Regions from separate parts of the Homo sapiens genome. Here regions 2, 3, 4, 5, 6 and 7 are each linked to region 1. Evidence: promoter capture Hi-C in 16 types of primary human blood cells and fetal thymus (Javierre and others, 2016). All regions are on one chromosome and are shown on one strand. The core of a region is centred on a gene start or on the middle of the fragment in contact, and the rest is flanking DNA. Distances in the headings are between cores, read along the strand shown.

What was found. Contacts are between HindIII fragments. The CHiCAGO score rates a contact against its expected background, and 5 or more counts as called.
Region 2: a fragment that was not itself captured here is called in contact with the fragment with the promoter of CPN2 in region 1 in 3 of 17 cell types (naive B cells, naive CD4 T cells and endothelial precursors); the score reaches 12.5 in naive B cells.
Region 3: a fragment that was not itself captured here is called in contact with the fragment with the promoter of CPN2 in region 1 in 1 of 17 cell types (total B cells); the score reaches 5.2 in total B cells.
Region 4: a contact is called between a fragment that was not itself captured here and the fragment with the promoter of CPN2 in region 1, in 1 of 17 cell types (M2 macrophages). The highest score is 5.4, in M2 macrophages.
Region 5: a contact is called between a fragment that was not itself captured here and the fragment with the promoter of CPN2 in region 1, in 4 of 17 cell types (total B cells, naive B cells, naive CD4 T cells and 1 more). The highest score is 8.4, in total B cells.
Region 6: a contact is called between a fragment that was not itself captured here and the fragment with the promoter of CPN2 in region 1, in 1 of 17 cell types (naive B cells). The highest score is 5.4, in naive B cells.
Region 7: a fragment that was not itself captured here is called in contact with the fragment with the promoter of CPN2 in region 1 in 3 of 17 cell types (M1 macrophages, total B cells and naive B cells); the score reaches 9.6 in M1 macrophages.

Annotation. Positions count from the first base shown.
Region 1 is chr3:194,349,501-194,352,805 of GRCh38, forward strand. It overlaps CPN2 (carboxypeptidase N subunit 2), which reads right to left and starts at 1,828. Exons shown (of 2, transcript NM_001080513.4): 1 at 1,742-1,828. RefSeq lists an enhancer at 1,304-2,153. The HindIII fragment of the contact is 6,903 bases long and covers 1-3,305 here.
Region 2 is chr3:193,658,663-193,662,261 of GRCh38, forward strand. It overlaps OPA1 (OPA1 mitochondrial dynamin like GTPase), which reads left to right. Exons shown (of 31, transcript NM_130837.3): 24 at 225-333; 25 at 820-899. All of the region lies in intron 4 of LOC102724808 (a long non-coding RNA gene), which reads right to left. Among named protein-coding and RNA genes, the nearest start is that of OPA1-AS1, 33 kb to the left of the region's middle. The HindIII fragment of the contact is 3,578 bases long and covers 74-3,599 here.
Region 3 is chr3:193,631,628-193,634,127 of GRCh38, forward strand. It overlaps OPA1 (OPA1 mitochondrial dynamin like GTPase), which reads left to right. Exons shown (of 31, transcript NM_130837.3): 8 at 1-38. Among named protein-coding and RNA genes, the nearest start is that of OPA1-AS1, 5.5 kb to the left of the region's middle. The HindIII fragment of the contact is 5,274 bases long and covers 1-2,500 here.
Region 4 is chr3:193,753,903-193,757,513 of GRCh38, forward strand. No RefSeq gene overlaps it. Among named protein-coding and RNA genes, the nearest start is that of LINC02038, 88 kb to the right of the region's middle. The HindIII fragment of the contact is 2,229 bases long and covers 1,248-3,476 here.
Region 5 is chr3:193,674,902-193,678,467 of GRCh38, forward strand. All of the region lies in intron 29 of OPA1 (OPA1 mitochondrial dynamin like GTPase), which reads left to right. LOC102724808 (a long non-coding RNA gene) reads right to left here. Exons shown (of 5, transcript XR_924835.3): 2 at 2,953-3,082. Among named protein-coding and RNA genes, the nearest start is that of OPA1-AS1, 49 kb to the left of the region's middle. The HindIII fragment of the contact is 7,050 bases long and covers 1-3,566 here.
Region 6 is chr3:193,705,263-193,708,603 of GRCh38, forward strand. No RefSeq gene overlaps it. Among named protein-coding and RNA genes, the nearest start is that of OPA1-AS1, 80 kb to the left of the region's middle. The HindIII fragment of the contact is 8,669 bases long and covers 1-3,341 here.
Region 7 is chr3:193,723,560-193,727,233 of GRCh38, forward strand. No RefSeq gene overlaps it. Among named protein-coding and RNA genes, the nearest start is that of OPA1-AS1, 98 kb to the left of the region's middle. The HindIII fragment of the contact is 210 bases long and covers 1,792-2,001 here.

The DNA of each region.
Region 1 (3,305 bases), core at 578-3,077:
TTATTCTAAATATTGAGATAAACATGTAAAATGCACAGCACAGTTCCACACACACAGTAGGGGCTTACTTGACTCTTTCCTTCCTGGCAGTGATGTTGCAAAGGCCCGAGGGAGCTTGTCTATCCTCTGTGTTAGCTTCTGGAAGAGAAGACAGCTGACAGGTTGAACTAAGAGGCCGTTGTGAACTGGGCACTATGCGACCCTCCCAATTTATACCCACCCTCCCAGTCCAGTGCAAGTCACACTTCCCCCATGAAGCCTTCCTGACTACCCTCTTCTTTTTTTTTTTTTTTTTTTTTTTTTTTTTTTTTTTTTTTTGAGACAGAGTTTCACTCTTGTTTCCCAGGCTGGAGTGCAGTGACGCCATCTCTGCTCACTGCAACCTCTGCCTCCCGGGTTCAAGCGATTCTCCTGCCTCAGCCTCCCGAGTAGTTGGGATTACAGGCGCCTGCCACCACATCTGGCTAATTTTTGTATTTTTAGTAGAGATGGGGTTTCACTGTGTTGGCCAGGCTGGTCTCGAACTCCTGACCTCAGGTGATCCGCCTGCCTCGGCCTCCCAAAGTGCTGGGATTACAGGCGTGAGCCACCGCGCTCGGCCCTTTCTTGGGTCCTCGGATCCCTCTTGTACTGTGTTGAATGTTTGGGCTCTTCCGCTCTGTTTTCTAGTCAGTTGCACCCACCCGACTGAGCCCGTGGTACTGCAGTCTTGCTGTGGTGTCTCTGCAAGCAGCTCTGCACCCCAGCACCTGGCTCGGGGCCAGGCACTGAGAAGGCAGTCAGGCCCTGTGTGCTGAATTGAAGGAATGTGTTTGTGGCTTTCAGTGACTTCGCATCTCAGGCCTTACTCTCATCCTGCTTAGTAGCAGGGGAAAGCACTTTAGCTCCGCCAGTGCCCCCAGCTGGGATCAGATTCTGACGCCATCACCTACTAGCGGTGTGGGCTTGTGCAAATCACTCCAACTCTCTAAGCCTCAGGTTTTCCAGACTTAATTATCACCTCTGCCCTCAGAGTTCAAATTAGCACTCCATTGGATGATAAATAGGCTAAATAAGATAGTAAATAGAAAGCCCTTAACACAGCGCCTGGCACATACTGAATGTTCAATAAAAGGTGGCCCCCTGCAGGTTTATTTCACCACAAACTTTATTATATGAGCCAGCACGCTTCTGGGAAGGAAACCAGGAGCTAGTCATCCTTGGGCCTGAGCTGGGTGCTGTGGCATGCGCTTGTAATCCCAGCTACTCAGCAGGCTGAGTGGGAGGATCGCTTGAAGCCAGGAGTTCAAGACCAGCCTGAGCAACATAACAAGACCCCCATCTCAAAAAACAATAATTATATTAATAAATAATTAATAATATTTAGTATTAATATAGGATTAATAAGTAATTAGTAATACTATTTATTATTATTATGCCAAGATGACAAGTATAAACTAGGCAGAACCAGGCCAACCTGGACATCTGGTCACCCTGCTTATCCTCTACTCACTACCAGCCTTGTAGGCCAGGACTGGCAGATCTTCATCTCACAAACCCCCGCCCCACCTTCCTCCTGCCTCTTCCCAGCAGCGCCCTAGCTGAGCACCTCAGGGACTTCTCCTCCCGGGGCAGGGGCCCCCCAGAACCGCAGCCTGCCTGGAGCTGCGGAATGCTCTGAAACGGGGGAGATCGCAAGTTCCCGTTCCTGCCCCCACGTCCCTGCAGACCCTGGAGCCCTTCAGCGACCCCGGGAGCCTACCGTGAGGGCCGAGCGGGTGGCGCCGGGCTGCCCTGTCTTCCTCAGGAGCAGAGAGGAGTCTGGTGTGGCCTGTGGTCAGCTCAATCCAGCCCCAGCGCTGATCAAAGTTCCAGGCAGTGGTTCCTCCCCTCACGTGGCCCCAGCGTCCCAGAATGTCACCAGGGTCACAGGACGGGAGAGGGCCTTGGCAAGGCCTCTGAAGATTACAAAATGACCCTGAACTCCTCCCATGTACAGAGCCCTGCCGGGGCCAAAATCCCACCGAGGTTGCAGGGTTGGCACCTTCAGGACCCCGAGGACACTCAGAAAGCTCTAGAGATTCCCGCAGGCGGCTGGGTTGGTGAGGCCTGGGATGGGGTCCACGCTCACACCCATACCTGTGAGCAGAGGCAGAGGGACTGGGAGCCTGCCTTCAGCCTCAGGCCCCTGCTGGGCTCTCAGCGCCCGGAGGCATTTCAAGAGGGCTGTGGATTTGTTGTTTTGTCTTGTTGTGTTTGTTTGCTTGTTTAATGAATGAACTTTCTAAACCCTTCCTGAATTAGAAGGGGGAAAAGCTATAGGGAGATGAATTGGGGCCCAATATGGAGAGGAGCGCTCACACACTCAGGGCTGGCCGAGGACGAAAGATGCTGCTTTGGAAGGGAGGGATTTTCCCATCTCCGGAGGTGTGGAACCAGGGCTGCAAGACACACGGAGTGTGTGTGTGCTGAGTGCGTGCATCTGGGGGTGTGCATGTAAGTGGGTGTAAATGTGAGTGGCTGTAGGGGGTGTGTGGTGAGTGCATGTGTGGGGGTGTGTTGTGTGTGTAAGTGGGTGTATGTGTGAGTGGGTGTGTGCGCGCGTGGGTAGGGTGTGTGTGTGGTGAGTGCGTGTGTGGGTGCGTGTGTGGGTGTATGTGTGAGTGGGTGTAGGGGTGTGTGTGGTGAGTGCGTGTGTGGGGGTGTGGTATGTAAAGAGGGTGTATATGTGAGTGGGCGTGTGTATGTGAGTGTAGGAGTGTGTGTGGTGAGAGCACATGTGTGATGTGTGTGTAAGTGGGTGTATGTGTGAGTGGGTGTAAAGGTGTGTGTGGTGAGTGCGTGTGTAAGTGGGTGTAGGGGAGTGTTTGGTGAGTGCATGCGTGTGGGTGTGGGGTGTGTGTGTGTAAATGGGTATATGTGTGAATGGGTGTAGCGGTGTGTGTGGTGAGTGCGTGTGTAAGTGGGTGTATGTGTGAATGGGTATGTAAGTGGGTGTAGGGGAGTGTTTGGTGAGTGCGTGCGTGTGGGTGTGGGGGGTGTGAGTGGGTATATGTGTGAATGGGTGTAGGGGTGTGTGTGGTGAGTGCGTGTGTGTAGGTGTGCAGTGTGTGTAAGTGGGTGTATGTGTGAGTGGGTGTGTGTAAGTGGGTGTAGGGGTGTGTGTGGTATAAGTGGGTGTGTATATGCATGAGTATGTCTCGTGTGTGTAGAATGAGAGTGTGTGAGAAAATGTGTGGTAAGTGGGTGTGAGTGTGCAGTGAGTGGGTGTGTGGGTGTATGTGTGTGGTGAGTGGGTGTGTGTGTGCAGTGTGTGGGTGTGTGGT
Region 2 (3,599 bases), core at 613-3,112, 690 kb before region 1:
TTTGGGCCAGGAGAGAATCTCCACTCTTTATTTTTTAGATAGCAAGCTAACAAATAAGCAGGCAAGTAAAAGAAGCTTATGCATTTTTATAGGAAGGATATATTTTTATGCTGGTTTATATACATGGTTATTTTTCCATATTTACTAAGCTGTCAATTTGAATAAAACTACTAAAATGATGAGATGTAAAACAAGTTGGCTTTTTCTCTTCTTGTTATTTTCAGAGGGTTATTCAACACAATGCTTTGGAAGACCGATCCATATCTGATAAACAGCAATGGGATGCAGCTATTTATTTTATGGAAGAGGCTCTGCAGGCTCGTCTCAAGGATAGTAAGTGGAGACACGGCTTATTGAGTTCTGAGTTCACAGTGGTGAAGGAGTCATCCAACTTTAGTGAACATTTGTAGAAATAGATTGAACATTTCAAAGTCTTTGTCATTAATACTATAGTCGAATATTATTTGTGGAATTTTTTTAGTCAACTGCTTTGTAACTACTAAAACCAATGAATAAAATGGACACATGATGCTTATATGCATTTATATTCTATAAAGCTATAATGCAGAATATTTTAGTGTGTTCGCTACTGTACTTATAGGAATTTTATAAGCAATTATACTTTTAGGTATCTTAAACACATATATAATTAAACTCTTACACATGTGCCATATCAGTCATGTGGGTTTTTTCCTTTATTTCAACTGCCTTCATATTGATATAGCACTTTGAAATAGTTAAGAAAGCAAGACCATTATTAGTTATAATTTGTGTGTGTGTAAGTGATAAAATTCTTGATTAATTAATTTTTTTTTCTAGCTGAAAATGCAATTGAAAACATGGTGGGTCCAGACTGGAAAAAGAGGTGGTTATACTGGAAGAATCGGACCCAAGAACAGGTAGAAATAAACAAGTCTCTAGTCTTATGATGATATAATTTTGTTCATTTTAATTCAGGCATTAAAATATAACCTTTTTGTGGCTCTAGACCAGTCTCAGGAATATTAAATGTTTTATATCATACTTTCTAAAATATAATGAATCTTTAGAATAAAGAATAAACTACATAAGAAAGTTTTTTTTAAGTGAAGTAGCCATGTTGTTAAAAGACAAGAGATGAAACATGCCCCTTTTGTGGTTGATTACATTGTTCATTTCAATTCCCTGTTTGAGGTAAAAAGGAAGATTAAAGTTATGAACAGGCCAGGCACGGTGTCTCATTCCTGTAATCACAACCCTTTGGGAGGCCAAGTCAGAGGAATCGCTTGAGTTAAGGAGTTCGAGACCAGCCTGGGCAACATAGCAAGACCTCCTCTTTACTAAAAGTCAAAAAAAATTAGCCAGGTGTGGTGGCGCATACCTGTTATCCCAGCTACTAGTGAGGCTGAGGTGGGAAGGATTGCTTGAGCCTGGGAGATCGAAGCTGCAGGGAAAATAACTTGTGAATAGAAAAAAATAGTAAGGTTTTCAGAGGATGTACAATGAATATGATTGGCGGGAAAAGATACAATTTTTCTTGCCTTATTTTATTATCTTATCTATATCTACCATTAAAGTCCCTACCCCTCACCTCCACCCCTGTTCATTCCTTTCCGATTCTTATAGCTTCTTTTCCTATCTAGCATTCAGTCTTATACCACTGTCTCATTCCTTGTTCATTCCTTAAATGAAAGAATCTAAATAGAATATAGAATCTAACTACATAAATTAATGAAATAATGAAGATGAAAAAGATTTAGCATCCAATCCATTTTCTTTTCTTGTTTGCTTTGTTCCTTGAATTCATTTAGAGAAAGGAGATCAAGTAATGGAAAAATAGAGGAGACAAAGGGAATAAAAATTGACCAAATGAGATGTCCCTATTTCTTTATTTTATATTTTCATTTTCATTTTAAATACAGTTAATTGTATAATCTATATCCTATTTTTTTCCTAGTTTCCCACATTTCTTGTTTCATAAGTTCTCTATCAGATGTGAGTCTCAACTTTCCTCAAAATAATGAAGAGACAGTCTTCTTTTTCTCTGTGTTTCTTTACTATTTTTTTTTTTGGTAATGACTTTTGTGAAAAATGAGCCATTAAGAGACTGAAGCAAAGCTGAGGAAGCAGACAGTTAGTGATTGGGTCATGCATGTGTTCAGGGTGCGTTGGTTATCTCTGCTCTACAGATGGGCCGAGAGAAGGAGGTCTGTCAGAAGAGAATTTCTAGAGATCCATCCAAGGTTTCTGACTTTGATAGAGGAAGATGCATTGATTAGAAAGAGCTGCTGTAAGGGAGATAAACTGCAAAAGAAAAATGGTATCTGGCCTTCAAGACTTAGTGATATTAGGCCTAAAGTCTCTAGAACAGTTGGTGGCAGAACTTGCCTCAGCAACTGACTGGTGGTAAATGTGCTTTGGCCAAACACTCTCTGAAAGAAGTGATTCCTGCTCGTAAGTTATTTTTGTCAGGAACTTAAACCCATAGGGGAATCCCTTCAAGAGAAAGAAAGGAATTTGCTTTAAAGTCAGTGCAAAGGGTCTGTAAGCCTAGAAGAGGAATCTGGAAACCCTTTACAGAAGAGCCTTCTCCCCACAGGATTTCAGGGCAGCATGTGTGAGACCCAGGCTGACTGTAGAACAGAGGCCATAATTTGGAATATAGAAGGGAGGGGCATCTGAATCACCCGGGGAGGTGTTTATATATAGTGTTTTGTTTTTTCTTCAAAAGCTAGCCTCATGTCAGACTCATTGAGTCAAGCTCTCCTTCTCTATCCTTTCTATCCCTCCCACTCCCAGTTGAAGACAAGTGTTTTCAACCTCATACCTGGAGGTTACAGTGAGACATGGATTCTAGAAGAGGTTGAGAATATCCCTAGGTCTCACATCGTAAGTTCACTTAGCTGAATGACAGGATTTGGCAGGAAAAGAAACTTAAAGATGAGAAATCCATTCTCTGAAAAGTATTTTGTGCTTTTGTGTTTCTTTTGTTTTCTAGGAAAATTCATCCCTTTGAAACATTCTCGCCTTGTTTAAGCCAAACTAATGGAAATTTTGGTCAGGATAGATCCAAGAGTAGTTCTCTCTTCTAATGGCCAAGTGTGGTGACAGTCAAATGATGGGTAGAAAGGGGGAAGTAAAACATGAGGCAGGATGAGCTTGGGAACACCATTACCAGCGATTTCCTTTCCATCTCAGACTGAATAGTACATGTTTAAGCAAACAGTGAACTTTCTCTTTATCAAATGCTCTTTTTTCTGAAGTATTAGTTTTCAGAGAGTATTAATTAGTAGTTCCATTTACAAGTTAATTGTTTGCATTTATGTGTTAATCTTGTCTACTCAGATTTCATAGCTGTGATAGAGTTTGGGGCAAAAAAAAACACTCAGTTTCGTAGCTGTGGTAGATTTTCTATTCTAGTAATTTATTTAGGGTAATGATTGAATTTAAAGCTAGTTTCTTCTATCATATACAATTTTGAGTGGAGGTTTGAAAAATGACAAGATTAATTTAACACAGTATAAGAATCTTGTTATCAAACATAACTAGTGTAGGTAAGTTTTCCTCCTTTGGTAAAGAGATTATGAATAATTACAGATAAGAGACTGGAAGTGAATTTA
Region 3 (2,500 bases), core at 1-2,500, 720 kb before region 1:
AAATTGACCAACTTCAGGAAGAACTTCTGCACACTCAGGTAATCATGATGACTAAGAAAAACTAGGGACTTTTAAAAATTATATTCGAATGTAACTTTGGTGATATGGACATTTATTTTTTCAACAGAGCAAAATTTGGAAGGTGTAATGATAGAACCTTATTATTATCGATAGATGCAAAAGCTAATTGAGAAATAAGGAATAAAGACAGAACTAGATAAGTATGGAGTTAACTCATTTATATGTAAAAACCTATTTTGAGTGAATCTTATGCCCAAAAGGGAGAAAGTGGCTTGTCCTTATATAAACTTATGCTTGCATTTTTACATTGATAAGCTAATACAGTTAAAGAAATTCGAGTTGAGTCTACCACATCGTTCTAGTGGGCTCTCAGGAACCTTTACTTTGCTTCGCAAGTCTGAAAGCAGTCAGACAATGCTTATCTAAAGCTCTTTCTGGCACTACTTAGAAAAGCTATTTTCTTATAGTTGGTGATAAAATTATTACTTTAAGGACCTATTTTGTGCAATGTAATGAGTGGGTAACATTCTAGTACAAAATTACCCTATCACAGCCAGGCACGGTGGCTCACGCCTGTAATCCCAACACTTTGGGAGGCCGAAGTGGGCGGATCACAAGGTCAGGAGATCGAGACCATCCTGGCTAACACAGTGAAACCCCTTCTCTACTAAAAATACAAAAAATTAGCTGGGCGTGGTGGCAGGCGCCTGTAGTCCCAGCTACTCAGGAGGCTGAGGCAGGAGAATGGTGTGAACCCAGGAGGCGGAGCTTGCAGTGAGCCCAGATGGCGCCACTGCACTCCAGCCTGGGCGACAGAGCAAGACTCCATCTCAAAAAGAAAAAAAAGTTACCCTATTACTCAATCATCAGTTTTTCTATATAGGTGACACTGACATGCATTAATTAACTTATTTTTTAAAGTTCAAAGAGTTACTATCAGCTGGGCATGGTGGGTCATGCCTGTAATCCCAGCACTTTGAGAGGCTGAGGCAGGAGGATCGCTTGAGCCCAGGAGTTTGAGACCAGCTTGGGCAACCCGGAGAAACCCCGTATCTATAAAAATTTTTTTAAAAATTAGCCAGGTGTGGTGGTTGTGCCTGTAGTCCCAGCAACTGGGAGGCTAAGGCGGGAGGATCACTTGAGCCCCAGGAGGTCAAGGCTACTGTAAGCCATGATTGCTCCCTGGCCAATAGAGCAAGACCCTGTCTGGAAGAAAACAAAAAAGAATAAGAAAAAGAGTTAATCTTGGATCTCTTTTTTGTGAAAAAGTGAAACGACTACAAGTTGAATATCTCTTATCTGAGGTGCTTGGGGCCAGCGTGTTTTGGATTTCAGATTTTTGAATTAGGGATAATCAGTCAGTAGTATGTTTTGAGTCACAGGTTTCTTTGGTATCTATTTATTGAGTCTCAAACCTCACTATACGCTAGACTCACCTGTGCTCTGAGTGGCACTATATCTATGTTTTTAAGGGTTCCTAGCCAGGTGATTCCAATCTGCAACCAGGGGTAAGAGTCATTGGTCACAAAGCATAGCCTCTGGAGCACATTAGAAATGCACATTCTTGACCCCATCCCATACCTTCTGAAGAATCAGAAACTCTGGGATGAAACTCAGCAATCTGTTTTTAAATGCCCTCAAGATAATTCTGATGCATTCTAAAGTTTGAGAATTATTGTTCTAGAGCTTTGAGAGACAGCTCAATAGCACATCTCTTCAGGATGGCTACAAATTGGCATCTGTACCAAAATGTTTCCATCCCCAGAAAATGTAGACCCCAAAATTGATTTTGTGTTTACAAAGAAATGAGCCAGTGGAAATTCTACCCTCTTATATGCCTTGATACAAACCCTTCAATTTGTGCAATTGTAATTGTCAGTCACTAGGCACTGATAGACTGTATTATGGAGAATTCACTGGGTTATCTATATCAATGATGTCCAATAGAAATATACAAGCCACCTGTGTAATTTTTAATTTTTACATTAAAAAGGGGTAAAAAGAAACGTGGAATTAGTTTTAATAATATATTTAACCCAGTCTATCCCAGATAGTATCATTTCAACATGTGATCAGTATAAAAAATATGAATGAGGTATTTTACACTTACAGCACAACCTCACTTCAGGCCAGCCACATTTCAGGTGCTTGATAACTACATGTGGCTAGTAGCTGCCGTGTTAAACAACACAGATCTAATCCTTAGATACTACCAGAATTTTGTTAAATATACTATTACTAGATATAAATGAGTGAGTTTATGTAAAAATATGTTTATAGTAGAGTCTAGCCAGTAGTTCTGCCTGTCTCATACTATGTAGGTGTTCAATTATGTATGCGTTCTTTTAATTTGGCTTGAGTTGGACTTGCTGTAAGGATAGAACCATGATTTCCTGTTAATTACTTTGTTCTTGAAAGATTCCAATAAGCTAAAAAAATTGTAAGGAATATTTTTTATTATAAAAGGCATATTATAAGT
Region 4 (3,611 bases), core at 1,112-3,611, 600 kb before region 1:
GAGATCTGATGATTTTATAAGTTTCTGGCATTTCCCTTGTTGGCACTTATTCTCTCCTGCTGCCCTGTGAAGAGGTGTCTTCCGCCACGACTGTAAGTGTCCTTAGGCTTCCCCATCCATGCAGAACTGTGAGTCCATTAAACCTCTTTTCTTTACAAATTACCCAGTCTCAGATATTTCTTCATAGCAGCATGAGAATGGACTAATTACAATAAATTGGTACCAAAGCAGTGGGACGCTGCTATAAGGATACCCAAAAATGTGGAAGTGTTTTTGGAACTGGGTAACAGGCAGAGGTTGGAACAGTTTGGAGGACTCAGAAGAAGAGAGGAAACTGTGGAAAAGTTTGGAACTTCCTGGAGACTTGTTGAATGGCTTTGACCAAAATGCTGATAGTGATCTGGACAATGAAGTCTAGGCTAAGCTGGTCTCAGGTGGAGATGAGGAACTTCTTAGGAACTAGAGCAAAGGTGACTCTTGCTATGCTTTAGCAAAGAGACTGGCAGTATTTTGCCCCTGCCCTAGAGATCTGTGGAACTTTGAACTTGAGAGACATAATTTGGGGCATCTGGCGGAAGAAATATCTAAACAACAAAACATTAATCCAACAAATGAGGTGCCAATTCTTTAGGGAGAAAATTGTAAAAGTTTATTAACAGATACTAAAGAAAACCTAAATAAATATGCAGAGCTATACCATGCTCCAGGATAAAAATACTCAATATCATAAAGACATCATTCTCACCAAAAAAAAAGAAAAAAGAAAAAAAACATTAAATAGGAAGCAGGGCACAAAAGTTTGGAAAATTTGCAGCCTGATGATGAGATAGAAAAGAAAATCCATTTTCTGGGGAGTAATTCAAGCTGGCTGCAGAAATTTGCCACAAGTAATGAGCAGCTTTACATTAATCACCAAGACAATGAGGAAAATATCTCCAGGGCATGTCAGATAACTTCATGGCAGCCCCTCTCATCACAGGCTCAGAGGCCTAAGAGGGAAAAATGGTTTCATGAGCCTGGCCCAGGACATCACTGCTGTGTGCAGCCTAGGGACTTGCTGCCCTGTGTCCCAGCTGCTTCAGCCTCACCTATGGCTAAAAGGGGCCAAGGCACAGCTCAAGCCCTTGCTTCAGAGTATGCAAGCCCCAAGCCTTGGTAGCTTCCACATGGTGTTGAGCCTGTGGGTGCACAGAAGTCAAGAATTGAAGTTTGGGAACCTCTTCTTGATTTCAAAGGATATGTGGAAAAGCTTGGATGTCCAGGCAGATGTCTGCTGCAGGGGCCCTCATGGAGAACCTCTGCTAGGGAAGTGTGGAAGGGAAAGTGGGGTTGGAGCCCTGGCACAGAGTCCCCACTGGGACACTGCCTAGTGGAGCTGTGAGAAGAGGGCCACTGTCCTCCAGACCCCAGAATGGTAGATCCACCAACAGCTTGCACCATGTGCTTGGAAAAGCTGCACTCAATGCCAGCCCATGAAAGCAGTCATGAGGGGGCCTGGATCCTGCAAAGCCACAGGGGCAGAGCTGCTCAAGGCCATGGGAGTCTCCTTCTTGCATCAGCATGACTTGGTTGTGAGACATGAAGTCAAAGGAGATCATTTTGGAACTTTAAGATTCAATGACTGCCCTACTGGATTTCGAATTCACTATACATGTTTGTTTTTTTTTTTTAGTAATTTCTCTAGGGTTTACAATAAATATGTTTAATTTCTCACAGTCTACTTTCAACTTGTATTTTACTACCTTATGTATTATGTAAAAACTTTATAGCAATACACCTGCATTTTTCTTCTTCCATTCTTTGCACTTAGTTGATATACATTCTATTTTGTTAAATATTATAAACTCCACAATATTGTTTCAACAGCCAATGATCTTTTAAGTAAATTAAACAAAAGTAAATAAATCCCTTTATATTTATTTACATAATTGTTATTTATGACATTTTAAATTTCTTTGCTTAGATCTGAGTTTCTATCTTTTACTTTTATCCTCCTGCATAAAGTACTTTCTTTAATATTTTTCATAGCACATTTCTGCTGATAAGTTTGCTCAGATTTTGTTTGGTGAATGTTGTTATTTTGCCTTTAGTTTTGATATTTTTGCTAGATGTAGACTTCAGAGCTGAGAGAGTATTATTTTCTCATTGTTGTTTTCCTTCTGTACTTTAAAATCCATTTTATTGATTCCGGGCCTTCATTGTTTCTGAAGAGTTCAGCTGTCATTCATATCATTGTTTGCCTTGTATGTAATCTGCTTTTGTCCTCTAGCTACTTTTAAATTTTTTCTCTGTATTGTTCATTTTCAAGTTTGACCATCCCATGCCTGAATGTAGATCTATGTGTATTTATGTGTATACCATGTGTATTTGTGATTCAATGTGTTTACTGAGCATTTTTGATTGGTATTTTAATGGTTTTCACTAACTCTGGGAAATTTTCTAGCCATCACTTCTTTAAATATTTTTTTTCTGTTCCATTTCTCATCTCTTCCCCTCTGACACCTTAATTTCACATATGTCAGACTGCCTGGTATTTCCCTACACATCATGGAGAATCTGTTTAATCTTTTTTATCTCTTTAAACTGTTTCAAGTTGAACAATCTCAAAAGGCCTATTTTCAAGTTCATTAACCCATTCTCATGTAGTCTGCAATCTGCTATTAAGCTCATCTAGTAGAATTTTTAATTCTACACATTTTTCTTTGCGGTTTTGGTAATTCTGTTTGGTTCTTTTTTATTGTTTCCATTTCTCTGCTGAGATTTCCTATATTTTTATTTAAATCACTGAATGTGTTAATAACTTTTACATTTGAAGTCTGGTCTGTTAATTCTAACACCTGGAGCATCTCAGGGTCTATTTCTATTGATTGATTTTTTTTTTCTTGAATTTAACTGGGTCACATTTTCCTATATCTTCATGTCTGATAATTTTTTATTGTTTGTTCTCTGACATGGATAATATAGGGAGTCCAGATTTTGTCACCTTCTTTTAAAGGACATTGAATTTTGTTCTTGAAGGCAGTTAAGTGTTTGGAATATAATTTTGGTCCTGTTAGAGTTGTTTCTTTTTCTTTGTGAAAGTGGGCGTATTTTTTTTTATTCCATTTCCCCTCTAATCCCTGCATTGTTGAAGGGATCTATTTTTGTATTGAGCTTAGGTTTAGAGCTGGCCCTTACTATACAGCATGGTTCTTCATCTCAAGGCATAACCTTTTTAGAATCTCAACTGAATCTTCAAAATGTTCTGCTTGGGACAGAAGTCCAACGTCTCTCAGCAAAGCAGGACTTCTGGTTTCTCTGTTCAGCTCCCAGTCCTGCAGCATGTGACCCTTGCTAGGCCTTGTGTATGGGCAGCTGAGTTCTCAGCCACAGACCCACAGTCCATCCCCATGCAGACTTCAGTGGCCTGATTTTCTGTGCAGTATCTTCTTTTCTGATATCCCACCCCACAAATTTCAGCCATGTCTATATCCCAAAGCTTCAATCTCTGCCTCCTTAGCTCTTTTTATTGCAGCAGGAGAATTTCCTTGGGAAAAAAACTGGGGTGACCATGGAACTCACGTCATATAGTTCACTTGTCTCCCAAATCACATTCCCCTATTGCCTATTGC
Region 5 (3,566 bases), core at 618-3,117, 670 kb before region 1:
GGGGCTCTGCCATGTGTATTTTGACAAAGCTACACAGGTGATTCTTGCCATCCCCGATTACCGTGTACCCGCCTGCCCCTGAGCTGGCACTCCAAAGAGTTCTTTCAGTGCATAGCAAGACAATTTTTCATGCTATTAATTGGGATAAAATTGACATACATTCATTTGTAGAGTCTGAGACACAACGTCACTTTGGAAAATTTGGTGAGCAATTTGAACTGCATCTGCACTGGTGTGTTCTTTTTGTTTCTGTAGACTTAACCAAAGAAAATGAACTTTAAAGGGACTTTAAAGGCATCTGCACTGGTGTGTTCTTTTTGTTTCTGTAGACTTAACCAAAGAAAATGAATTTTAAAGGAAGAGAGGGTGATACCAAGTTGTAGAATTCTAGGTATGTAGGTTCAGAGGAGATTTTTTTTTTTTAAGAAAAAAAAAAAAAAAAAAAAAAACACCCAATCAAGAAGAATAGAGCAGGGTGTCCCGAAGAGAACGTGTGAGCTCGAAGCATCCCGGCAGCATCTTTCATATCTCAGTACTGTTGCTCTGTTTCTTGGGCTCACAACACCATTTCCTCTCTCCTGGCTTTTAACACATCTCGAGGCAACCTTTTCCCTTTCTTTTTATGCACTTCTCTCACTGCGTCTCTTCTATATCATCATCACTTCAACCTAACCCAGTATTTTTATCCCACCTGCTTATTTACCTTCCTTCAGTGACTAAAAACCTTACTCAGATACTGCCAGTGTTGTTTAATTGAGCAGAATAGAGGCTTCTCACTATAGGCAACTGTAAATCAATGAAAATAACCATTTAAAGAAGAAAAACATTTTCATGTCTATCACGGTCGATCCCTTCTGCCAAAGTGATTTGGTTCATTCATAAATTCCCCATACCTCGTGTGTTACATATTGTACTGTACACATTTACTGAATGTTCGATTGTGATCTTGTAATACAGACTGTTCATTAGCCCCCTTCTCTTGACTTAAAAAGTTGGGGGGAACTAACTCTTTTCATCCCAAGGAAACTTTCTTCTACTCTGTCTTGCCAGAAAGTTACTGCTCATTTCTCTTGTAGAGCAGCTTGCCTGTGTGGCATTCACTCCTGTTCTGCCCACTCCCTTCCTAATATCGTGCAGTCTGGCTTTCATCTATATCAAAACCACTTATTGATAGATCACCAATGATTTCCTAATGCCAGTCTACCCAGTTCACCAGGAAACTTTAATAACTTTTTATGTTTATTAGGAATTTTTAAGTTCATTGGAATACATTCAAGTACTTTTTGGAATGATTATATGATGTAGAAATGTGTATGTTTGAGAGACAGAAAAATTGATTTTTTTTTCCTCTTCACTACAGAATAAATAATGTATTTGTTTTATGGTAGCAATACTTGAACTCTTTAAGGCATCTTTTCATGGTAAATCTGGCAATTTTAAAAATCTGGGCTTTGTAAAATAATTTTTTTTATAGTAAGGCAGTTAACACATTAAAGCAACTAGGAAAGATAGTGAAGAATTATTTTTACCTTGAGTCTGTATAGATGAAGTAGGCTCTGCTTTGTGTTGGAACAGAACAAACAAACAAAAAAACCTGAGTTGATACAAAGATAAAGTAATCCTCAAGGAAAGTCCTCTCTGTTAGAGAAGTGGTTATTTACACACAGAATTCCACATGACAACGCCTGAGTGGTGTGGTTTCCAGGTTATTGATGAGAAAATCGAGACTCAAAATGGGTCTTTTAGAATGAAGTACATTTTTCATGGCCTAAGTCTGTCTTTAAAAGTCACCGTTGTGGCCGGGTGTGGTGGCTCACGCCTGTAATCCCAGCACTTTAGGAGGCCAAGGTGGGCGGATCACAAGGTCAGGAGATCCAGACCATCCTGGCTAACACAGTGAAACCCCGTCTCTACTAAAAATACAAAAAATTTAGCCAGGCGTGGTGGCGGGCGCCTGTAGTCCCAGCTGCTGGGGAGGCTGAGGCAGGAGAATGGCGTGAACCTGGGAGGCGGAGCTTGCGGTGAGCCGAGATCGCGCCACTGCACTCCAGCCTGGGTGACAGAGCAAGACTCGTCTCAAAAAAAAAAAAAAAAAAAAAAAAAGTCACTGTTGAAGAATATCAATAAATTAGTACAAGCGTAAAAGAACATTTTCTTTTCTATAATATTATACATGCTGCTGGTAATCAACACTTTACTAGCAAGTATATTCTTTTGCTTTAAACTCAAGTTTTAACTGATTAAGAATAAAGACAAGAATGTTCTCTACAATAATGTATGGATTGAATTTGCCATTTATCATTTTAATGTAGGTTTTACTTATATACTATTGTGAAAATACTCTTAATGTATTCAAAAGGCCAGTGCACAATTTTTTTTTCTTTTACTTCTTTTTTTTTTTTTTTTTTCTTTAGAAAGAGTGTCACTTGCTGCCCAGGCTAGAGTGCAGTGGTGTGATCATGGCTCACTGCAGCCTTGAACTCCTGGGCTCAAGTGATCTAATACCTTTAAAGTTGGGAATAAACTTTATCTTAAGCGTTTTTATTTTTAAATTATGTTTTTGCATATTTGATAGAAAAAGTAGAATGTAGTAATTGAAAACCTAATCACAAAACAATTCATTGGACTCTGCAACAGTATATAAAAAATAAAATTAAACGAGATAGGAAATCTTAAGGGATTGGTGGATTGATGCACATGAAACTGGTAACCTCTGTTAAGTACAGTTCTCCAGGTAGTTGGAGAAATTAGTTAAATGTGAAGAGAATTTTAATTTTGCACTATTTTGTACATTTCTAAACTGTGTCTCCCACAGCCCTTCTCCCCCAGTGAGCACGATTCAGAATTACTTTGAAATGTTGTAGTCTTAATTATCCTATTCATGGAAATGACGAAGCTAATACACGATGTGCTCTATCTTAAAAGTAACAGATATTTTCCCAAGTAACCTACTGCTGGTTGTGATGCTGAGGGACATTTCATGGGACTGCATGGTCGTTGCTCATCGTGATACCATCCTCAGTGGTTGGGGGATTCACAGTGAATTCTCATATCCTGTAACTATGCATCATGGATCTATCATCTGAAAATAAATCAAAATCTTTGTTGAACTCACAGTTTCCACACTTGTATCACCCATTTAAGATTGTTTCATTGTTACCTCCTGTGTACAGAATATTTCATTTCAATTTCTCTTAGAACAGCTCATTCATCTATTCTCTAGTTTCAATATTCTGAGCAGTAGAAGTTTGCTGTTTTGATTAACTTCAGTTAGATCTCTTTTCTGGGCCAAGAATTAAAGCCATTTTATCTTTAGTCTCTCCTTTTGTTGGCACTGCTTCATAGACTGTGTCATATATACAGATCTGTCTTTAGACTGATCTTTACCAAAGTACACTACTGGAATTTGAGGGTTTTTTTTTTTAACATCCTTTTCATTATGAGAGAGCTAGTGTATATGCATTGTGGGAAATTAGAAACTATAGATGGCAAAATTTTAAAAAATAATTGCCACCACCCAGAGATTGCACTGTAGTTTAAGACACTTTTGAATGTGGTCCTAGGGA
Region 6 (3,341 bases), core at 420-2,919, 640 kb before region 1:
TCTGCACAGATCAGGTGGCCCCCCATGTCTCACCTTTGTTGTTGCCATGGGCCTTCATTTTCATCTCCTGTTCATCCCCCACACTCCTGCCAGAATGAAATATCTAAAATGGGAACATGATCATTTGATGAAAATCTGTCTCCAGGTAGCTTTATTTCTCCATTGATAAAATAAGAGGGTTTGGTTGGATGTTCATTCAGCGTTCTTCTAATGCTGACATTTGTGAAAACTTTAATTCTGTTTTATATAAAACTGCCCTTAATTGGCATAGAGCTTTTTTATCTCATTTAATCTTTAAAATATGTCCACAAGGTAAATAAGATATTCGTTGTGATGGAATAAATCGAACTGATTATTGTATTATTTTAAACATTTAATTAAATAGTTTGATTCTGGCACTAAACTTCTGAAGTATTTATTACAGAGCTTTACTAAAGATATAAAACACTTCCAGGGGAAAATCTTTGCCTTTTTTGGCATCTGGAGAGTTTCTCCATGAGGAAATTGCCTTCTTAGATGCCAGTGCTTACTCTGCACCAGCAGTTGGTAGAGTGTGGTCTTTGGGTCCCTGGGGGTCCTGAAGATTATTTCCATGGTCCACAAGGTCACCATGATTTTGATAATAATACTAATATTTGCCCTTTTCACTGTGCTGACATTCACTGGTTGTAGAAAAACCACAGCACACCACACTGGAGCCTCGGCATGAATCAAGGCAACGGCACTGCCGGTCCTAACAGGCACTATGTCATCTTCACTGCCGTGCACTCCCCTTTTTTCCAAAAAAAACACAGAAGCCTGGTACACAGAAAACATGTGCATATAAAGGATATTGGTGATCTTGAGGAAAAGTACTTGTATAATTGTTTAATTGGTGACGTAAATTACCACTTTTTTTTCAAGGAACACCATTTTGCTTAAAAGAATCACTGACAAACTACATAAGTCAGACTTGGTCACCTGGCAGCCATTTTCTCAAACTAAGCGGAGTGAGCCAGCCACTTCAAGGAAAACCACTTCTGTGCATTTATTGCCAATGATACAAATTACACATCTAAGCAAAAATGAACATTTTGAAAAACTTATATTGAGCTTGTCATTGAGCTTGACAGCTTTTCAGTGTATGTATTTCTGATGAGATAATGATATTAGTGGATGTGATTTTTGGATATTGTAAAGTGCGAAGTGTCAACAGTTGGAGGATCTGCATAACCGTGGGAACTGGTATTTCTCGAATGGTTAATGCGTTGTGGTAACAAATCAGGCATGGGTAAAGATGCCTACAAAATGGGAGCTGGACCAGAGGAGTTTAGGTCACAGAATATGGAGAAGTTCATTGATATGGTTTCGGATGCCACATTACAACTAACCTTTTTTAAGTGTGGGTGCAGTATCAGAGAAGACTCACAATTACCTGAAATGGCTCTTACATTCTTCTCTTTTTCAATTCCGTAACTGTGTGAGGCCAGGTTTTCTATATCTGTGTCAGCCAAAACAGCATATCACAATAGATTGAATGCAGAAGCAGGTAAGATAATCCGGTTATCTGCTATCAAGCCAGACATTAAAAAGAATTGCAAAAATGAAAGATGGTACTACTCTTGTTGCTATATTTGTTTTTCATCAGAAATGTTATTTATGTTAACATGTAATTGTTTTATTTTTTAAATAAATTGAGTAATATTTCTCAGTTATAATTTCTTTTTTCTTTTTCTTTTTTTTTCTTTTTTTTTTTTTTTTGAGACAGAGTTTCACTCTTGTCACCCACCCAGGCTGGAGTGCAGGGGCATGATCTTGGCTCACTGCAATCTCCACCTCCCAGGTTCAAGTGATTCTCCTGCCTCAGCCTCCCCAGTAGCTGGGACTACAGGCGCATGCCACCACACCCGGCTAACTTTTGTATTTTTAGTAGAGATGGGGTTTCACCATGTTGGCCAGGCTGTTCCCGAACTCCTGACCTCAAGTGATCCACCCGCCCCTGCCTCCCAAAGTGCTGGGGTTACAGGCATGAGCCACTGCACCCAGCCAGTTCTAATTTCTAATATAATAAATATCAACAGACATAACCTACACAAAAACTCCTGGGGTACTCAATAATTCTCAAGACATTAAACATTTGTCAATCACTGCTTTGTACTATGAGGCTTAGCTATAGGATCAGACCCTTTGTTTAAAATATCTGAAGCTCTGCACCATCCATGAAAATTACCTGTTGGCTTCTTTACCTGAAATCGGGATATATTTTATGTCAATGGCAAGTGCCAGAAGCCAGGCCAGCAAATGGCAGTGATACCTGGTATATTGGTTGCATGTCCAAATCAGCTGTACGACTCCACCGGACCTGTTCTCCCTAAGGACATGGTGGTGTCCATGTCATTACATTCATCGGATAGTTTTCAGGCCATATCTCACTTCACCCATTACTATATTCTGTAGCGTTGACCACTTCATCTTTGAAGTACTTGCTTCTCTTGGCTTCCATTACAGCACACACTTCTGATTTTCCTCCTACCTTCCTGGCTGTTCTTCCTCCTACCTTCCTGGCTGTTCTTCCTCCTCAGTGCTCTGTTCTGGTGCTCTTCCAACCGATATTCTCTTCCTAGATTTTATCCACTCCCATAGCCTCAACTCTCATTTAATCGCCAGTGCTTCCCGATGCCTATTCAACATTATCACTTGTACTTTTCAAAGATACCTTATAGCTAAAGTCATTATAATTCTTGCCCACCTGTACTCACTTCACTCTGCTCTGTTTCACTAAATGGGAATATCATTTACATCATTTACCTTTTTGCTCAAACCAAAAACTAGGGGTCACCCTTGACTCTTCCCCCAACCCCATGTCCACATCAAATCTCCACCATGGCCTATTAATTAGACACCCAAGCATCTCAAATCCATCCATGCCTTTCCGTCCACACTGTCACCATCTTGGCCCTAGTCATAATCTGCAGGGCCTCCTGACTCATTTGCTCTCTTGCTTTCCTCTGGCTTAGCCTCTGTATTATAGCCAGATCCTAGATGATTGTTATTCTTCTGCTTAAAGCCATGGTATGGATTGGCACTGTCCTGATAATGTTCAGAGTCATCAAGGGTTTTCAGGGCCCAGTGAGATCTGCCCCTGCCTTCTCCAGCCTCCTTTTTCCCTGTGCTTCAGACACTTGAGCTTTCGGGTCTATAAATACACTCTATGCTACCCTGGGCTTTTGTACGTCCTCTTCTCAACCCCGAACTCCCATCTGCCTAGCCAACTGCTACTTATCCTTAGGGCTCTGCTGAAATATCACCTCCTCTGGGAGCCCTTCCCTGACCTAGCTCCCAACTCAGACTAATCTAAGTTT
Region 7 (3,674 bases), core at 647-3,146, 630 kb before region 1:
AAAGTGATAGCTTCAAGTGTTGAATACAACCCAGAACTGTCCAGTGGGAAATCCCAGCTGGAGGCTGGGACACCATTTATGACCCAGCTAATTCCTTTAGATGTAGTGGTCCAAGAATTACAGACAACTTGGTTCAAGTTTTTACTAATGAGATTTTAAATGAAATTCTGTAACCTGTGAGTCTTGGTTTCTTTGTTTTAAAAAATGGTAAGAATAATACCCAAATCATAACTTTGTAGTAAGCACTAAATATGATAGCATGTAATAGACTATGAATGTCATTAATATCCAGCATGTTTTTTTAAAGTAGAAATTGACAAACTGATTCTAAAACTCATATGGCAATACAAAGGACCTAGAAAGTAAACAAAACAAAATAAAACTTTGCAAAAGAAGAACAAACTAGAATGAGATTAACACAACCTGATAAACTTATATAAGTTATTATATATAACTTATTATATGAAGTTATATAATGTAGAGTAATCAGAAAAGTATAATTTGGCATAATGACAGACAAATAGATCAATGGAACAGAATATAGAGTACAGAATTAGATCCACACATACATGGACACCAGATTTTTCACAAAAGTTCAAGGGCAATTTAGTGGAGAAAGGGTAGTTTTTCAACAAATGGTGCTGAAGCAATTGGACATCTATACGCTCAATGAACTTTGATTCACTATCACACCATACACATCAGTTCACATATGTATACATACATAGTTATATACATATATTATAAGTTAATGTGAAATGAAGTATAGAGCTAAATGTTAAAACTATAATGATAAAACTAAAAAAAAAAAGAAACAGGAAAAAAACTCTGCATCCTTGGGTTAAACAAACATTTCTTAGATACAACAACTAAAGCACCATCCATAATAGCACAAATGATAAAATGGATATCATCAAAATCAAACTTCTGTCTTTCAAAGGATACTTCTAAGAGAATTCATAGGCAACACACGGAATGGGAGAAAATATATGCAAATCCTGTGTCTGATAAAGAACTTGTATTCAGAATATATAAAGAACTCTCAAAACTCAATCATAAGAAATCAAACAACCCAATTTAAAACACACGGGTGATGCTTTATACTCCAGAAAGTATGATTTAAAGGCACAAGATCATGGCCCTTGTCACAGCCATTGAATGTGCATTGAGATGGTTTTTTTTAATTTCTTAGACAAGTTCTTACTCTGTCATCCAGGATGGTGTGCAGTGATACCATCATAGCTCACTGCAGCCTCAAACTCCTGAACTCAAGCGATCCTCCCTCCTCAGCCTCCTGAGTATCTGGGACCATAGGTGCTTGCCACCACGCCTGGCTAATTTTTTTTATTGTTGTTGTAACAGTTTTGTGTAGACAGGGTCTCACTGTGTTGTCCAGGCTGGTCTCAAACTCCTGGGCTCAACCAGTCCTTCTGCCTCGGTCTCCTGAAGTGCTGGGATTACAGTGAAATTCTTTTCTATAATTTTTAAAAATTATAATTGAAAAATAAGTAAGCTGTTGTAACATGTAAGGTCGTGACAATTTTTGTAGTTGTATTTGAAATCAGATTTCTATAACCTGCATTTGTATACAGAATTCTCAGTGGCTTTATATATTGTGAAATTTTTATCTAAGGTTGAGGTGTGGATTATGCTTAAGAGTAAAAACTGAAATGAGACGATTTACTTTGCTTACAATGCTATGCTGTACAACTTGAGAATTGTATATTAATTTACCATGTATAATGAACTGAAACTGTTTATACCTCCAAGTTTTTACACTGAAGATTAACAAGCTTTTTTAAATTCAAAACTTTTTATTTTCTTATTAAGGGAATAAGCCGTTCAGCTCAATCTGCATATGTGTGCTTTTTATTTTCTTATTAAGGGAATAAACCGTTCAGTTCAATCTGCATATGTGTGCTTTTTATTTTCTTATTAAGGGAATAAGCCGTTCAGCTCAATCTGCATATGTGTGCTTTTTATTTTCTGGATGCACAGTGAAGCTTTATGCTTGTATCTCACTGCATTCTATCTGATTGCAGAAACTAAAGCACAATTTACAAGCACAGAAACAAAACAAAACAAAAAATGTAGGCGATAGATTTGAATAGACGTTTTGCTAAAGGAGATCTACAATAACAAGCAAGCACCTGAAAAGATGACATGCCACTACACACCTATTAGGACTAAAAGACCGACCATACCAAGTGTTGACAAAGATATGGAGTAACAGGAATCTTCATACACTCTTGGTGGAAATGTGAGATGGTATAACCACTTTGGAACACAATTGGAAGTTTCCTAAAACATCGAATACAAAACTATCATATGATCCAGCCATTTCATTCCTGTCTACCCAAGAGAAATGAAAGCATGTGTTTTATACAAAGATGTGTACACAAATGTGCGCAGCAGCTTTGTTTGTAACAGCTAAAAACTAGACATATCCCAAATGTCTAGCAAGAGAGAAACAGATAAACAAACTGGTATATTCATACAGTGGAACACTATTTGGCTATCAAACGAAATGGACCAGCCAGGTGCGGTGGCTCACGCCTATAATCCCAGCACTTTGGGAGGCGGAGGTGGGCAGATGGCTTGAGCTCAGGAGTTCGAGACCAGCCTGGGCAATATGGCAAAACACTATCTCTACAAAAAAATACAAAAAAAGAAATTAGCCAGATGTGGTGGTGCAGGCCTGTAGTCTCAGCTACTGGGGAGGCTGAGGTGGGATGATCACTTGACCCTGGGAGGCTGAGGCTGCAGTGAACCAAGATCACACCACTGCACTTCAGCCTGGGTGACAAAGTGACAACCTGTCTTTAAAAGAAAAAGAAAAAGAAAAAGAAAGTGGACCACTGAGACATGTAACAACATGGGTGAATCTCAAAATGATTATGCTAAGTAAAAGAAGCCACATTTTTTTTTAAAAGAGTACATACTATATGGTTCTAGGAACCATACATTGTAGGAAGTGCAAGCTGATAAATGGCGATAGTAGATCCGTGGTTGCCTGAATACAGGATGAAGGTATTACGGGGACACGAGACAAATTTGGGGGCGACAGATATGTTCATTGTCTTGTTTGTGATGATAGTTTCACAGATGCGGGAACTTATTAATTGTATGCTTTAAATATGTATAGTACGTTGTACATCAGTTATACTTCCGTAAAGAAAAAAATATGAAAATTTGGGCATCTATGTTGTACAGATATAGATTCAATTCCCATATTTAAGTCCCAGCGTCACCACTTATATTCTATATAAGCTTAGACAAGTCACTCAATCCCTCTGAATCTCAGCAGTCTCGTCTGTAAAATGAAGATGATAATATTCCTATCTTCCTTGGAAGATTATTATGAACACAGAACAAAATAATATTTATATAATGCTTAATAGCATGCTTAGGACATAGTATGTGCTTAACAAAAATTATTATTAAAGTGCTTCCCACTGCACCTGATATTAGCTTAATGCTCAGTAACGTTTTACCCCATCTCCACCCTTACTTTCCCTACTAAACTTGATGTGTGTGGTCACAAAACAGTCTGGCACTCTAGACAAAGAGGGGTCATTAGCTGCATCAGGCAGAAAAAGCCAGCTTCTGAGTGAGGCAATTCGACTGGGTCTAGATCTCCCATCTCGTCCCTGGGTGGGTGTGGCTGATGTTGG